Linked DNA regions of Homo sapiens: regions 2 and 3 are each linked to region 1. Evidence: promoter capture Hi-C in 16 types of primary human blood cells and fetal thymus (Javierre and others, 2016). All regions are on one chromosome and are shown on one strand. Each heading gives the region's core, a stretch centred on a gene start or on the middle of the fragment in contact. The rest is flanking DNA. Distances are from core to core; before and after follow the strand shown. Region 1 holds the start of ABHD4 (abhydrolase domain containing 4, N-acyl phospholipase B). Region 2 overlaps SLC7A7 (solute carrier family 7 member 7). Region 3 overlaps TRD-AS1 (TRD antisense RNA 1).

Evidence for each region. Contacts are between HindIII fragments. The CHiCAGO score rates a contact against its expected background, and 5 or more counts as called.
Region 2: a fragment that was not itself captured here is called in contact with the fragment with the promoter of ABHD4 in region 1 in 2 of 17 cell types (naive B cells and total B cells); the score reaches 5.9 in naive B cells.
Region 3: a fragment that was not itself captured here is called in contact with the fragment with the promoter of ABHD4 in region 1 in 3 of 17 cell types (total B cells, naive B cells and endothelial precursors); the score reaches 6.5 in total B cells.

What each region holds. Positions count from the first base shown.
Region 1 is chr14:22,596,985-22,599,751 of GRCh38, forward strand. It overlaps ABHD4 (abhydrolase domain containing 4, N-acyl phospholipase B), which reads left to right and starts at 1,316. Exons shown (of 7, transcript NM_022060.3): 1 at 1,316-1,345. The coding sequence starts at 1,323. RefSeq lists a silencer at 1,001-1,200 and an enhancer at 1,311-1,550. The HindIII fragment of the contact is 5,320 bases long and covers 1-1,666 here.
Region 2 is chr14:22,797,824-22,800,602 of GRCh38, forward strand. All of the region lies in intron 2 of SLC7A7 (solute carrier family 7 member 7), which reads right to left. Among named protein-coding and RNA genes, the nearest start is that of SLC7A7, 16 kb to the right of the region's middle. The HindIII fragment of the contact is 3,739 bases long and covers 1-2,779 here.
Region 3 is chr14:22,386,423-22,389,122 of GRCh38, forward strand. The region is part of intron 2 of TRD-AS1 (TRD antisense RNA 1); the gene reads right to left. It also overlaps TRA. Among named protein-coding and RNA genes, the nearest start is that of TRD-AS1, 95 kb to the right of the region's middle. RefSeq lists enhancers at 1,250-1,479, 1,588-2,088. The HindIII fragment of the contact is 4,572 bases long and covers 1-2,700 here.

The DNA of each region.
Region 1 (2,767 bases), core at 66-2,565:
TCACCCATCCTCCACCACTCCCCAGTCTGGTTTTTTTTGTTTGTTTGCTTGTTTGTTTTTGGTTTTTGAGATGGAGTCTCACTCTGTCTCTCAGGCTGGAGTGCAGTGTCACAATTTTGGCTCACTGCAACCTCCGCCTCCTGGGTTCAAGCAATTCTCCCTGCCGCAGCCTCCCCAGTAGCTAGGATTACAGGTGCCTGCTACCACACCTGGCTAATTTTTTGTATTTTTAGTAAGAGATGGGGTTTCACCATGTTGGCCAGACTGGTCTCGAACTACTGACTGCAAGTGATCCACCCACTTTGGCCTCCCAAGGTGCAGGGATTACAGGCGTGAGCCACCGCGCCCCACCCCTAGTCTGGTTTTAACTAAGGGGATGATCTGAAATCTGACAGTTCCAGGGAGGTCAGGCCCTGTTTACCGGTACAAGCAAATTCAGCAGCCAGCCTCAAGATTTAGCTCCTCTGCTGAGCAAACTGAAGTGCACTCAGGACCTCTGGGCCAAGCCAGCCTTATCTCCCTGTCCCCGCATTTACATACCGAAAGGAGACCTAGCCTTATTGGTGAGTCCTTCAACTGTTATCCTCCAAACTGAGGGTGACCTGGAGTTGAGCTATATTTTCCCTGGAAAATAGGTTGGGGTCAGAGTCAACATCAGAGCAGAGATATGCCCATTTTGGCAGATGTCATATAGGTTTAGGTTTGCCAGAGAAAATACAGGATGCCTACTTATGTCCCAAATACTGCATGGCCCATACTTATTCTAAAAAAGTATTTGCTTTATTTAAATCTGGAATTTACATTTAACTAGGTGTCCTGTATTTTAGTTTCGAAATCTGGCATCCAGGCCCTTTGTAGGAGCATTCAACCAATGGCGTTGTCTCCACAAACATTTAAGCCTCTTACTAGAAGGAACATTAACAAGGGTCGATTTCAGGAGGACACAGTTACAATGGGAAGCCCAAAGAGTGGGTGCGAGCGTGCAGGCGTAGTTCTACCACTTTTTAGTTATGAGAGAAGGGAGGGCTGTCGGAGCTCCTGCAAGGACTCCCCCAAATGTGTGACCAGGATTACTGTCCCATTCTGAGACCGTCAGAGACATCTCTGCCGGGACACATGCCAGTGATTGAAAACACAGCAAGGGCCCCACTAGCTGAAACCAAGTTGCAGAGTTTTGAGGGTCCCACCGCCGACCGCCGGCCCGCCGCGAGCCCTGCCCCCTGCGCGGCCACGCCCCCTTGCTCCCCGCGGCCTCCCGGGTCAGCTGGTGCTGGCGTCAGGCGCTGGGCGGGCTCGCCAGGACCTGGCAAGGCTTGTTTACTATGGCCGATGATCTGGAGCAGCAGTGAGTTAATCCTGTCCCTTTCTCTCTTTCTCTCTCTCTCTCTGGGCCATGATCCTGGGACTGTCTGTGGCTGAGGAACAGTTGTAGACACCTTCCCGCTCTTCCTTTTCCAGGTCGGCCTCCGGGGAGGGCGGGGGGTGGGTGCGTTGCTTGCTTTGCATTTGCCCAGAAGAGGCAGCGGCTGAGCCTGGGGAGCCATGGGAGACGCGCTCGCCCGCAGCCCGGGGATCCTGGCTTTCTACCTTAGTCCTCGCGAGTGCCCCTCATTCTCCTCTGGCCTCTGGAGAGATTCCATGTTGATGTGTGAGATCCCCGAAAGCAAGCTTGTGGGACGCGGGTGCGGAGGTAGCAGCCAGGCGTGCTCGTCTCGACTTGCCCCCCAGAACGGCAGTCGTGGGGATGGAGAGAGCCTCCTCCCTCCGCCCGGCAAAGAGAAGATGTGGAGAGACTGGAGAGGTCTCCATCGCGCTGAAATTGGTGTGGAACAACGGGCTTGCAAGTTTCTTTAGCTGTCGCCCACCGAGACACGTAGCCGCATGTGATCCTAGTTGATAATGCTTTTAATAATCGTAACAACATCTTTAATGCAATGGTTTCAGATTTAGAGCTATTGGGATTTGCTACCACTCTTTCAAGGGCATCAGGTTTGGGATACCACCTGTAGGTGGTGTGACTAGCAGTTCGCAATCTGATAGGAGTAAGAAAAAGTTGCTACGAGAAGAATGACTCAGCTCCCAGCCGAGCCTTGGTTTCACCAGAACTGGGCCTTTCCTGGACCCAGTAATCCTGTTTTTCAGACCTGTAGAACTGGAAGTCCGGGGAACTAATTAACTTTATGACCATAATTAATAGCTTGCTGGGCTTGAAAGAAATGTCCAGGGGAATGTTTTACTTTCTAAGATGACTTTTCCAAGAGGAAATTTGCAATGCTTTAAAGGACTTAGGGAGGCAGAATATTAGAGCTGGAGGACATGCAGGTAGTTCAGCTCCTTTTTAAAAATGAAGAAGCTGGTGTCCATAGAAATTAGGAGACTTGCCCAAGATCACAGAGGTCTAGAACAGGATTCTCTCCCAGCACAGAACCCCTTGTGCTTCACCCCCATCAAGTTGACAGAGACCGTCCTAGCCAGGTTAAGTTCATGGCTGAATGTCTTTTCTGCTCCTTGCCTCAATTTCCCACTCCAGCCCTTACCTCCCGCATAGTTTTGAGCACATACAGTGTGCCAGGCACCATTTCCAGTGTTTACTTGTAACATTTTTGGTGAAGAAGGAAAGCAAAGTAATTCTCCCACCAAGGACTCTCTGCTGAGCAGTCTATGATGCTGTTCCTTGGGTAGCGTTTCTCCTGAACTCTGCTTTGTACAGTAACAGGACAATGTGGGATCCAGGTGTTATGATCTGACTTGTCACAGTCTGTGATTT
Region 2 (2,779 bases), core at 228-2,727, 200 kb after region 1:
GCTGTAGTTCAACAGCTCTAAAGGTAGACTATGCCTGCCAAAAGACTGCAAACAACTGGCAGGAGCAGAGACTCTGTGTTTGCTCTTTGGAAACTGTCATGATTTGAATAGAAAAAGATGAAAATATGGTACAAATATAGATCACATTTCTATGAGGTAGGGACCCCATTTTATAGAAGAGAGAACTGAGGGCTGGGCACGGTGGCTCATGCCTGTAATCCCAGCAATTTGAGAGGCCGAGGAAGGTAGATCACCTGAGGTCAGGAGTTTCAGACTAGCCTGGCCAACATGGTGAAACCCCATCTCTACTAAAAATACAAAAAATTAGCCGGGCATAGTGGTGGGCACCTGTAATCCCAGCTACTCGGGAGGCTGAGGCAGGAGAATCGCTTGAACCCAGGAGGCGGAGGTTGCAGTAAACTGAGATTACGCCACTGCACTCCAGACTGGGCAACAAGAGTGAAACTCTGTCAAAAAAAAAGAAGAAGAAGAAGGAGAAGGAGGAAAAGGAGAAGGAGAAGGAGAACAAGAGGAAACTGAGGCTAATAAATTTGACCTAGCATTGATTGAATCCTGCCTGATTCCACGCTGTTCACCACCATGCACCAGTGCCTTCCAAAGGGATAAGGGTATCCCCTACACTGTTCAAGAAAAAGAAGTCTGACTCAGGGCACCCAATCATTACAGCCATGGAGAAGGCATCATTGTAGGGTAGAGATATTTCATCCAACTTTTCCAGAAACATACCTCAACCAACCTAAGGCAGGCTTAACTCTTTTTCATAAAATCGTCCCTCAACCTTGGTCCTTTCCTCTAACAATCACCCTCCATGCTTTCAGAATCATTCATCTGAAGAGCATGTCTACATTCCTTCCCGTTCCTGGGTCTCTACAATGCAGTCTGAGATGTTGCAACTCCTTCCTCTTTCACCCTGCAAAAGTTTTCCTTTGACCCTCTGAGTTGCCAATTCCAAATGACATTTTATTCCTTATTTTAAACTTAATAGCTCCTCCAGAAAGGCTATTTTTGAGTGTAAACCTGCCACCTCTGGTATGCTGCCCTTGCTCTGTGCTCTCACCTCCCCAATTAACTACACTGCATTAGAACAGTGTACATATGTCTCTCCCACCCACGAGAGCTGTGTGAGGGCAGAGAGTGGATAACAGTTATCCTTGTACCCATGGGCATAGTCCTGAACTAGACACACAGTAACACTTAATACATTTTGCTGGGTGAATAAATGATATTTCTGAAACCTGATTTCACCCTCACTGCCCTGAAATTTCATTGCCTTAGGAGAAAGCCCACATGAAAAGCCACCAGTGACCTTCATATCAATAAATCCAATCAACTATACTCAATCTTTACCTAGCTTGACCTCTTAGCAGATTGGACACAGGTAGTCATTCATTCCTTCTCAATTCACTCCCTTCCACTCACCATCTTCCAGGTTTCCACCTATCTCTCTAGATGCTCCTTCTCCATCTTTTCACAAAATACCTATCCCTCAAATGTGGGTATTCCTCAGAATGCTTCTAAGCCCCTTTGTCCTCCCTTTCTACATCTTGTCCCAAGGTCATCTCATCTGTTCCTGTGGTTTCTTTTTCTTTTTATTTTTTTCTTTCTTTTTTTTTTTTTTTTTTTTTTTTGAGACAGAATCTTGCTCTGTCACCCAAGATGGAGTGCAGTGGAGCTGTCTCGGCTCACTGCAACCTCTTCCTCCAGGGTTCAAGCGATTCTCCTGCCTCAGCCTCCAGAGTAGCTGGGACTACAGGTGCACACCACCATGCCCGGCTAGTTTTTGTATTTTTAGTAGAGACAGGGTTTCGCCATGTTGGCCAGGCTGGTCTCGAACTCCTGGCCTCAAGTGATCAGCCCACCTCAGCCTCCCAAAGTGTTGGGATTACAGGTGTGAGCCACCGCCCTGGCCTGTTCCTATGGTTTCAATAACCATATATACAATGATGACTCCCAAAAGTATATCATCAGCCCAACTGTCATGATTCTAGATATATATGAATATTCAACCACCTACTGGACATTACCAGGCACATCAAACTCAACATGTCCAAAACTGATTCCATCAATTTCTCCCAAACCTACTGCACCTTCGGTGTTCCCCATACAAGTAACTGGCGTCACCATCCACCCATTTATGCAAGCCAAAGACCTGGGCATGTTATTGTCATCAACAACTTCCACTCATATCTACTCATAGTCCAAGTCTTAAGTCTCCCTGTCCCCAAAACATGACTCTAGTCCAAGCCACCATCATTTCTCACTAGGATCATAGCAGCAGCTTCCCACCTGTCTCCCAGCTTTCAATCCTACATAGAAAAACTAATCTTTCTTAAACTCACAAATTCTAAAATCTAAATCACAAATGCCACTCTTCTGCTTTTAAAGGCCTTAAGAGTTTTCTCATTGCCTTAGAAGACAGCCCACCAAACTCCTTAATATAGTTGGTGCAATAGATTGGAGTTTTCCAATATGCCTCAACGTCTCCCATCCCATATTCCTTTCTTACAATGTGACTTTGACACTCTACCCATCAAGAGGCAGGGTCTGTACCCCTCTTCTCGAAACTGGATGGTCTTCTGTGAATGCCTCTACCTATAGAGTATGACAGAATTGACACCATGCAACTTCAGAGACTAGGTCATAAAAGGCAATGCAACTTCCACTTTGGGTGCTACAACACTCATTCTGGACGCTTTCAGCTGCCTGCATAAGCAGTCTGACTGCCCACGAGTCACCACGCTGTGAGAAAGCTCAACAC
Region 3 (2,700 bases), core at 181-2,680, 210 kb before region 1:
GCAATTCCTTTGGCAGTTTGAATTATAATATTTACTTCCATGATACAGTCTTCAGCTGTTGTAACTGCTAGTGACCCTTCTCTGAATCCCTACTTCGTATGTTAGACATTTTTTATATGGAGAATTAATACAGCCTTGACTGCTATGCTTCTTTTTTACTTCCATCTCTAATAATAAGATCCTCAAGGGTCGAGACTGTCATACTCTTGTTTTTTGTGTTTACTTCACTGCATATCCTAGAGCTGAGTACATATGGAAGAATGAATCAATTAATGAAATTTATGAACACATGCTGAGGTTTAAAGAGAATATCAACTGCTTGGTTTGATGACAAAAAGCAACATCACTCTGTGTCTAGCACGTAGCCCAGAGGTGCGGGCCCCATCCTCTCGTGTGAGGAGCCCACGGTGATGCATAGGCACCTGCACCCCGTGCCTAAACCCTGCAGCTGGCACGGGCCCTGTCTGCTCTTCATTCACCGTTCTCACGAGTTGCAATAAGTTCAGCCCTCCATGTCACACTGTGTTTTCCATCCTGGGGAGTGTTTCACAGCTATCCCAAGCCCCACGCTGACGAATCACGGCCGAAAACACACTCTGATGCCAGCACAGACCACGGAGCAAATGTCAGACAAGATCAGCCTCGGAAAAGTGAGTCCTGAATTGCGATGGAAGTGGGCTTCCTCTCACAAGGACTTTGTGTGGAGATGCGCAGGTGGGCTGTTGGAAAAGACCCATGGAATTCCCTTCCTCTGGGTGCCTTTTCTGTCCCAACCTCTGGGGATTCCTCAAGAATCGGGGGGATTTCAGCACGGAGTGTGGGACTCTGTCTGCCCCAAGATCAGAGGATTCACCTTGCCTTTTGGAAAGAACTGCCCAGTGTATCAGGTTTTTATGAGTCAGTTTTAGAGTTGGGAATGCGGACAGATTTGTAAGAAAGTCCACAGAGCATATCTCTCCACAGCGGAGAAGGCTCTCGAGCCCCAGAAGGCAATATCACGGTGGCCTAGGTGGATGTCACGGGGTGAGAATCAACCCTCAGTTGCCACGAGGAATCTGAGGAGATCCAGGATTACGGTTTTTATGTAACTGTCTTACCTCTGTTTCACAAGGGCCAAAACTTCAGCCCCGTTATAAAATCAACAGATGCAGAAAAGAGACAAGTGGCCACTAGATGGCAGCAGATGGTAAGAAACGTGAGTTGCAGGCGGGCTGGGCAAGAGTTAGGCTGGAAGCCCCTCCATTTTGCTTTACATCTTTAATGAGATATGTGAAGAAAATTAGTCCCTTACATGCCAGACGCAGATGCCACAGCATATGGAGAGATGCCGCACAGCAATATTTCTCTGGTTATTAAACAGGAGGCACCTAACCAGTCATTCACTGCATCATCATGCAGAGTTATCCTTTAGGTCTCCGGATACTGTTGTTGACAAGGTAATAACAGAAGAAAGCAGTTGAGAAGACTGATGTCGGGACGTGGGCCTCTGGGCTCGTGGGACTTCACCATGCCAGGGGATGGGGCACATTGCCAGAAAATGAGGAGCAGCCCACTGGGGCCACTTTTCCGTGGCCAGGGGGACACTGTGGCTTCTGCTGCCGGGCTTAGTCCCAGCAGGCGTCTGCTGCTCTCTGGTCCCCCTGGCAGCCCTCGGGGGCTCATTTATTCAGAAGCCCCATTACCGCGAGACAATTCTGCGGTCTGACCTTTCACCACAAATCCCAAATGGGAAAGGGAGCTCTGGGAATTTTAAAGAGCAAACCACACTTGCTTCTCCAGCAAAATTGAAAAGATACAGCATAACTAGAGTGCATTCAGGTGCACATAGATAGGGAAACACGGTTTCCATGCTGCCCCAAACAAAAGGAGGGAGTCCAGTCCTGCCGACTGCAGGAAACAGCCTCACTCGGAAGACACACTTTTTCTTGGGAGAGTGTTCCCAGGTCCAGAGCAGGCAGGGATTGCGCCCACTTCCCCACTTCTCACACTTTTCTCCAACCCCACCACTCAGTCTGACTATTCCTTTATTTAATTCTTCCACACTCCCAAACCCAGGGGCTTCATAAGGCCTTCAGGGTAGCTGAGGAACAGAGAACAGATTATTCAGTCCAGGCAACTAGTCCTTGTCTCAGGCCCAACAAGAAACTGTTATCTTATTAACCTGAAAGCCCAGAACTCTCAGGACTTCTCAGAGTCACTCATGAAGCCCCTTAACAGTCCTGAAATGAAGATAAATAATACAGCCATTTTTCGTACAGAGAAACTGAGGTATAAAACTGAGATCAGCTGCAGCTCTCCTGGTCCCCATTGCTTTCCCACAGATTCAACCCTCTGAAGCATCCTCCAGTGAAAATGTAGTAGCAAGATTCACCCTACCAGGATTTCTCTCCCCCTCTTAGAAAATTACTTCCTGCGCTAGAAATCCTCACTTGTCTGTGTGACTTTAGACAACTTGCTTAACCTCTCTGTGCCTCACTTATCATCTGTAATTTGAGGGACTAGAACCAGATGATGACTAAGGCCCATTCCAGCTCACAGTCTTGTGGCTAATTTCCCAGTCCTCTGCCAGCCCTCAAAGAGAGTTGTATGGGACACTTTTTCCAGCAACAGCCAAACTCAACAGGAGCAAGCAGAATTTCCTTCTCCAATTGAGAAGCAATGGGGTGGTGGTTGGAGTCTTGTTGATGTCCTTTGTCCTCG